2 separate regions of the Homo sapiens genome follow, and region 1 is linked to region 2. Evidence: promoter capture Hi-C in human tissues and cell types (Jung and others, 2019). All regions are on one chromosome and are shown on one strand. Each heading gives the region's core, a stretch centred on a gene start or on the middle of the fragment in contact. The rest is flanking DNA. Distances are from core to core; before and after follow the strand shown.

Evidence for each region. The method cuts DNA at HindIII sites, captures the fragments that hold promoters and counts their contacts. A contact is called where the count stands out against the background at its distance.
Region 1: a contact is called between a fragment that was not itself captured here and the fragment with the promoter of BCL9 in region 2, in 1 of the 25 tissues and cell types used here (thymus).

The regions. Positions count from the first base shown.
Region 1 is chr1:147,503,961-147,508,057 of GRCh38, forward strand. All of the region lies in intron 3 of LINC00624 (long intergenic non-protein coding RNA 624), which reads right to left. Among named protein-coding and RNA genes, the nearest start is that of LINC00624, 12 kb to the right of the region's middle. RefSeq lists enhancers at 1-597, 598-1,443. The HindIII fragment of the contact is 4,397 bases long and covers 1-3,855 here.
Region 2 is chr1:147,538,659-147,542,783 of GRCh38, forward strand. BCL9 (BCL9 transcription coactivator) reads left to right here and starts at 2,843. Exons shown (of 10, transcript NM_004326.4): 1 at 2,843-3,016. RefSeq lists enhancers at 2,501-2,795, 2,514-3,268, 2,829-2,888. The HindIII fragment of the contact is 6,993 bases long and covers 2,297-4,125 here.

The sequences.
Region 1 (4,097 bases), core at 407-2,906, 36 kb before region 2:
TTGGCATTCTTTTTCTTTTTTTTTTTTTTTTTTTTTTTTGAGATGGAGTCTCGCTCTGTTGCCCAGGCTGAACTGCAGTGGCGCGATCTTGGCTCACTGCAAGCTCCACCCGCCGGGTTCACACCATTCTCCTGCCTCAGCCTCCCGACTAGCTGGGACTACAGGTGCCCACCACCATGCCCGGCTAATTTTTTGTATTTTTTAGTAGAGATGGGGTTTCACCGTGTTAGCCAGGATGGTCTCGATGATCCGCCCACCTCGGCCTCCCAAAGTGCTGGGGTAACAGGCGTGAGCCACCACGCCCTGCTGCATTGTTGGCATTCTTGCCATAGCTCTGGTTCTACTTTGTCACATTCAGCCCCCACTCGCTGAGCACCTACTGTGTGCCAAGCACCCTCCAAGGCCTCACAACCTGGTTTATATTCCAGACGTCCTAGCTGGCCTTTCTAAAGCACCATAATTGTGTACATGGGCGTGCAATCCCCATTCAACCTTAATTCTCCTGCTCTTCTCCAGGAGCTGATTTCTGACTCACAAACTCATACCCAAGTCAGCCATAACGCCGATGTACTTCCCTGGTGTGTGCGCTGAAGGATGGGTTGGAGGAGGCAACAGTGACACTGGTTCAGATATTGAAAGCCTCCTTAGGGTCTGGGCCTCTGCCCTCGCACCTAGCAACCAGGGCCACAGAAATCATTAACACAGTGCACTGATTTCCTTCTATTTCTCGGGTGCTGAGAAATGAAGGTAAATTAAAGAGAAGACGCGTATAAATAGGCCACTTTAACAAGTGATCATATTCACACCCAGGAACCACAATAACAAATCGGAACAACAGAGAAACATAGCGCGCTAATGAGACCGGAAGGCTGTTTCAGTTTCTGGGCTCTGCTCACTTGTGTTTTGAAAGGGCGAAGCAACTCAGTTGCAGGAATGTCCTGGGGGAGAAAATTCCACCAGGACGGACTATTATCAAGTTGTCACGGAGGAGGTGGGAAAAGGCTGCCAAAGAGAGTCTGACTCGTAGACTGCTCTCAGAAGGAATCAATGCTGGGTCTGATCAGAGCTCATCCTCTTTCATGCTGCCTGATTTTTTGAGAAATAACGCCCAGGGTTACACTGCATCATTGCAAACTCACCAGCCAGCCCCAGTCAGAGCTAGAGACCAGGCAGGGGAGAGCAAATGTAATCTGACCCTACCACCTGCTGGCTAGCTGGCTGGAGGGCGGGTACGGAAGGCAGGCCATGTTTGAGAATCTTTGTTGAGGCTTTGCTTCATCCCCCTCCCTCCCCCATCCTCCCACAGAATTGCTTATTCCTCTGGCAAAACCCTGATTCTCAGTGCCAAGCTTCTCCATGCATAAAATAAGGATGATAACATTTGTTTTCCACTTTTTCAGTGTCTTGTGAGACTTCATCTGCTAATATTTATAAAGCATCTCAAACTTCTTCAGTGAAAGGTGACAATCTGTAAGCACCTTGAACTGCCATTGACAACTGACATTTATTGAGCATGGACTTCGGATCAGACCGTGTACCAGGTAATTTATATACATGTTATTCAATTCAGTCCTGGTACAACAGCCTGGTAAAGTAGATGTTGTTATTCCTGTCTGGCAAAGAAAAGGAAACCCAGAAATGTCAAGTAACCTTGCCTAAATGCACACAGGTAAAAAGAGTCATGATTGAGTCTGATTCAAAGATTTCCCAATATGTGGCTCAGCCTCTCTCATACACTTTGCTTTGAATCTCCTTTGATTGTGTGTTCATTTATCCAATGAGCCGCTATGTGCCAGGCATTCTTTCCCTATCTTTCATCATCTACCCTTTTCCATGTCTCTGTGTGTACGTATCTGTTTCTATGTGTCTTTCTCCAATTTTTGTCACACACACACACACACACACACACACACCGAGCCAGGTGGAGACCAGTGTTCTCATCCTATAGCCCAGTTATAGGGCACCCAGCTTTTCTGGGCCTACGCCACAAGGTTTATTACCCTCCACTAGCAGGGGCAGCCCCATCTCTTGGCACAAATCCCAGGGACCCCCATACCTGGCGCTGCTTAGGGGTCCAGTTCATCTACCTGAAACTGAGTGAGCTTTCCTTGGCAAATTCTGAAGAAGTTTTTTCATTCATTGTTTGCTACAATTCATTTGACAATAAATCATATATTGCTTTGTGGCAGCTCTTCCATTGTTGCCTTAAACAACTGTTCAGCACTTAAATTTTTCTCATGTTTATGTCTTGTTCCTGGAAGCAAGAGTCGTGTCTTATGTCTCTGTTTCATCTGCAGTCCCCACAGGCTTGACACGTGAGAGGCATTCAAGAAACATTTGTTGATTTTATATTCAACTTCCTCCCGTTCCTGGGAATGGGTCTGCCTAATTACCCTTCCTGACAAATTCTGTGCCTTGCTATATATTCCTATCTCCCCATACCCCATCCTTTCTTTCTATTTTTATTTTTTTCATTCCTTCCTCTCCTCAGTTAACTAAGCAGAAATCATGGAGTTAGGTTTATTTGTTAAATTATCTTCCTTGGGTCCTATAGGTGGAAAGAAAACAAAATTTGGAGTCTGACAATCTGAGTTCGGGTCACTATGTGACAACAGAGTTCACTGGCTGTGTGTCCTCAGCCTAACTACCGAACTCGTCTGAAAATCCATTTCTCCCAAAATTACTATCTCCAGGTCTTCTCATCTCAGACCATGCTCCTGAAACATACCTTGCAAAGGTCATCAATGTCCTACCTACAGCCAAATCCAATAGACTGTTTTCAGCCTTTTTATTTTGACCTCAGTACATTTGTCTTTATTTATGTATTTATTTTTTGCAGAGACAAGGTCTCACTTTGTTGCCCAGGCTGGCCTTGAACTCCTGGGCTCAAGAGATCCTGCCATCTCAAGTCTCCCAAAGTGCTGGGATTACAGGCGTGACCCACTTCACCTGGCCCATTTGTCCTTATTGACCAGTTTTTTCTTGTCTCAACACTCTTCCCTCATGCCATCAACTTCATCTCATGTTCTTCTGAGTACTCTACTTGTTTTTTTTCATTGTTATCATTCTTCTTACTAAAACATGAGCTAACCTTAATTGATGCTTACTATGTGCCAGAATTGCGATAAACTTTCTAGGTACTGCTCCGTAAGGTAGGTGCTATTACTGTCCTTGTTAGAGATGAAAAGACCATGGCTCAGAGAGGTGACCTAACTTGCCCAGAGACATATGGCCAGAATATACTCTCTCAACAGAACAACATGCTTCTTCAACTCCTTTATGGGTTCTCCTTCTCTTCTTTTTACTTTTGAAGTTCCTTGGAGCTCTATCCTGGGCCTGTTTCTCCTCTGTCTACTCTCCCTGGCAATCTCAGCTACTTCTTTGTCTTTAATAACCAACCATGTAGCAATAGTTCCATATTGCCATCTTCAGCCCATGCTCCTCTCCTGAGATCCAGATCTTTGTCTTCAACTACTTACTGGACAGTGTGATACATGATGTTTCCGACATGACATGTCTTAAACTGCATTAGTCAACTCTCCCTCAAAACCTGCTTTTCCTCTCAGGCTTCCTACCTCAGTAAAGTCATCCACCCACTGCCATCCACCAACTGCCATCCGCCAACTGCCCAAGTGAGAAAGCTCAATGTCGTCTTCTTTACCTCTCATTCATCCTTCTTAACATGGCTTCCAAGACCCTTCAAGACTTGGTTCCTTCCTCTTTCCAGTTTCATTTCTTCCGATTCATCCCCTGACATTCTTCATCCAGCTGTGATCACCAAAGTGTGGGTCCTAGAGTAAGGCAAATTCACTTGCTTGCTTTCTCTGATTTTCTCTGACCTTCTCGTGTCTGGGTCTGCAATAAATTGTACCTCTAGCTGTAACATGCTTCCATCTCTTACCCCTCACCTAAGCTCATCTTTATTTACTAGGTCTCATCTTAAATGTCACTTCTTTTGAAAATACTTGCCTAGACCACCTCAGATCTTCCTGCTGGCTGTGCCCAGCTACCCTTACCGAAGCATAATCCTGTCAATGGCAATTACTTTTCAACTGTTGATATAGTCTTGTCTATTGTAGTATCTCCAGTATCCAGCA
Region 2 (4,125 bases), core at 1,593-4,092:
AACTACTTATAGGAGATATCATGAGATTTAAAAATGCATGTGAAAGTGTTAGGATCATGATTGCCTCTTTCTTCTTTCTCTCATTGAGCATTTGTATTTTCACTCTAACAATTGGAACAAGTCTTTTTGCTGCCTTAGCAGTACAGCATAGTGGTGGGGATCCTGGTCTCTAGAAAGGCAGACCACCTGGGGCCATATCTCAGCCACTACTTCCTGGCTGGATTACCTTAACACGCTCCTTCACTTCTGTGCCTCAGCTCCTTCATCTAGAAAATAGACACACTGATAGTTTACACTGTATGGGGTTGTTTAATATATGGAAATTCTTAATAAATGTTAGTTGCTGTCATCACCATTATCATCAATATCTATGGGCCTTTTTAGTTTGCTTTTTTATTTAAAAAAATTTTTTATACTTAAGAAAGGGAAGCTTTTCTGGTCTTAGCTGCCTTTCTCTATTGCCTAGCAATCTGAAAATAGTGCAGTCATTGAAGGTTAAGTCGACCCTTTATGCAATTCTTGCCTGGGAGGCCTCATTGTGTATAGTGAGTCACCACCACTTAGAAGTGGACAGTGAGTCAGTAGCCTATTAAGGGGAGGTCAGAAGTTCCCCTGGCTCAAAATGAAAGGATCCAAACCCAACCCTGGGGTACAGAAAAAACAGTGTACTTATATGGCTGACTGGACTTGAAGTGCCATGGAGTACCTGGACTACTCCAGTGAGAAGGCATAATATGGCGGGTAAACGCTGGGGCTTTAGAATCACACAGGCCTCAGTTGGATTTCAGCTCTACCTCTGCCTTGCTGTGTGACCTCAGACAAGTTGCTTAACCTCTCTGTGCCTCGTTTTTCTATCATCTGTAAATGGAAATGATCATAACAAAAATTACTTCATGATACAAATGAGTGGGAAAATGCTAAGAATCAAGTAAATACTTAAAAAAAGGTTATTATTATTATTATTATATTACCACATCATCATCATTAATGGGAGTCGGGACAGACAGTTCAGGGATCAGGGATAATGGAGGAGCAAATTAAGGGGGAAAATAACAGGAACAAGTCTGTGTCTTTGATGTGGTGAGTTTTAGGTAGTGACACCTCATTTAGCTGGTGTTAAGTATGAAAGAAGTCATAATTTATTCTTTACTGCATACCTATGAAGGAATGAGTGATGTGTGTTCTCATAATTTCCATTTTGTAAAGGAAGATTCTGAGGAATAGAGTCTAAACAATCTTCATGAAAAAGTACAGAACTGATTCAGCAGCAGTTAGGAGCTAAGCTTCCATTCAGATCCTGTTGCATAGGGATAACTCTTCTGGCCTAGGCAGAGGAGACCTTGTTAGGTCTGTGAGTCCACAGTATCTAAAAATATGAATGTCATATAATCATCCTGTCATTCTTCTTCCTGATCTCAATTGGCCCTCCTGATTTCATGCCATCTGCAAATTTGCACATCCTTTGTGCTCCTTTTTGCTCACATTTTATGCCTTCTTTTACCATCTCATTTACTCTGCATGTTTCAATCTTTCTGGGCTTCCATTTTTCTTCTTTTTTTAATGCAGTGTTGTTTCTCTCTCTCTCTCTCTCTCTCTCTCTCTCTCTCCACTCCTTTACAGCCCCCACCTCCTCCCTCCACACCAATCAAATTCCTGCTTGTTTCTTGCCATATTCATTATCCTACCTCATTCCCCTCTTATTCCTAGAAAACAGCACACTCACCCTCCCCTCCTCCAACTCTCAGGCCCACCCTCCATAAATTCCAGCAGCCTGGCAATCAGTAACTTTAGCATCACACTTCACAGCTCTCCTAGTTTACACTACTTGTTACTACTCTCCTTGCTACTGCTCTCTAGGGTTTCTGCTAAAATAAAAAATAAAAAAAAATAAAAAAAGCTTCACTTTAAAAATATCTTGGGTACAAGTTGAACCTACAGTTAAGTTTACTCACACATTTACACATTTCATGATTTTATTTTAACTAGTAGCTCAAGTCCATGCTCAATTATGCAGTGAAAGAAGGCTAGATCCTTAGGAAACAAATTTTTCTCTATTGTAAAGAAGAAAAATCACCTAACCACTCAACAGAAACCCCAGTCCTGGGGCCACTCACCCTCTTATCTCCCTACTCCCCCAATCTCCAGCTAATGGGACTTTGCTTTTTCCTTTGTCGGGTCATTTATTTCACTTTTCCTGGCGCTGAGATGGCCTGAGTCTGTGTATGTGTGCACACGTGTGTGGCCACTGCTTTTCTTCCAAAGGACTCACCTCTCTTCTGCCATTTTACTAGGACACAGGAGGCGGCTCTCTGCTCTCGCTCTCCCTCTCTTTTTCTCCCTGCCCCCAACTCAGCCTGGGCTTTTTCCTGTCTCTTAACTCCACCAGTGCAGCAGCAACTAGCTGAGCTGCTTGAGAGAGAGAGAGAAGAGAGAGAGAGAGAAGAGAGAGAGAGAGAGAGAGGAGAGAGAGAGAGAGAGAGAGAGAGAGAGAGAGAGAGAGAGAGAGAGAGAGAGAGAGAGTGTGTGTGTGTGTGTGTGTGTGTGTGTGTGTGTGTGTGTGTGTGCCTGCGTGCGCAGCTAGGCCAAGCCTGCGAGCCTGCCTGTCACTGGAGAGTTTTAGTTTGCATTCAGAAGAAAGGAGGAGGGGAGACAAGAGGGGAGGAGGAAAAGGTGGAGGGGGGAGGAGTGGGGGGGCGCAGAGAAGGGAGGGAGAATGTCTTGTTTGTGGCTTGTCAGCAATTGCTTGAGACAAGCTTCCATGTGTGAAAGCTACTTGGCATGAATGCCTGGGCCGTACCAAGTGTCACCGCAGCAAGAGGGGGAGTCAGAAGAAAAACAGATCAGACCAGAGCAGACAATAGGCCCCTAAAGTGTTCCCCCTAAGTTGCTTTGATGTTGTCCTGGTGTCTTGATACCAGGAGGCCAGGGATTGCGGGAAAAGGGTCTTTTTTGTCTTCATTCACTTTCCCCCCTCAGTTTCTGAAATGATTCTCCAGAATTTCTCCTCATAAAAAAGGTAAGAGCCCTAACAATTCCTTCTTCGGTGGCAGGCTTGTTCGCCTGTGCCTGGAAGTGGGGGTCTCATTCCTGCGCTGCTCTGGAGGAGCGCTGGGGTCCTGCGATTGGAGCTCCTGCGTTGCCCCTGGAAGTCTTTCAAGGCATCCAGGACTGGGGATGGCCCCTCTTTCGAGGGAACCCCAGTAACACGATCTGTGCCTCTGGGTTGGTGGGGGAGAAGGGGTGGATGGAGAGGGCTGGGAGGAGGGTGTGAGGGTGGGAGGGAAAAGAGAGAGAGAGAGGGAGCGCGAGAGAGGGAAGCCTGGAAAAGAGGGAGAGAAGGGCAGAGCCTTGGTTCAGGGAAACCCCAGCCCAGAGCCCAGGGAGGCCTTGCAGGCTCCGAGCTGTGCATTCTCAGGCTGAGCAAGGGCCGGCCAGGGCTCCGCCGAGTGACTGCAGAGATTGCATCGAGCTTTGTGTGTGCCAGTGTGCCCGTGGGTCTGTGTGTGCGTGTGGACTTCCCACACACTGCCCTGGCGTGCCTCGCTGTGAAGGGGAGGCACCCCGATCCTTACCACCCCAGCCCAGACTCTCCGAGGAGGAGCGGCATGGCAGGCAAGAAGGGAGAGCAAGAGAACTCTGCCACAAGACGATCCAGAAACTTTTCCAGTCTCAGGGATTCCTCTGGTCGTAGAGACTGTTGAGTTGTGGGGTGCCCCGTGCCTCAATTTCCCCATCTGTAAAATCAAGGTTGCTGATCAGGGATGCTGTATGCCTCCCTGGGATTGAGCGAAACAGAACAGATCACTGTGTCTGAAACGCGTGGAGAAATCGTCAGCTAGAGATGCTGTGGAATCACAGAGTAGAAGTGTTATCATTATTCTTGATCATCATCATCAGGGTAATAAAAACATCATTAAAGACACCCTGAGACAAATAGACTGAGGAGCACAGATCAAGTGTCTGAGCATTTCTAAGGAAACAAAAAGCCTTGTTCCACCTGTTGGCTTCTGTCCTTTTTCTCTTGTGTCTTTTCGTTAGATTTATTGGCCGATTTGTACAGAGAATGGGGTGGGAGGGGTTGGGTTTTCCCCTTTCCTCCTCCTTGTACGTATTTTTGTTTTAAAG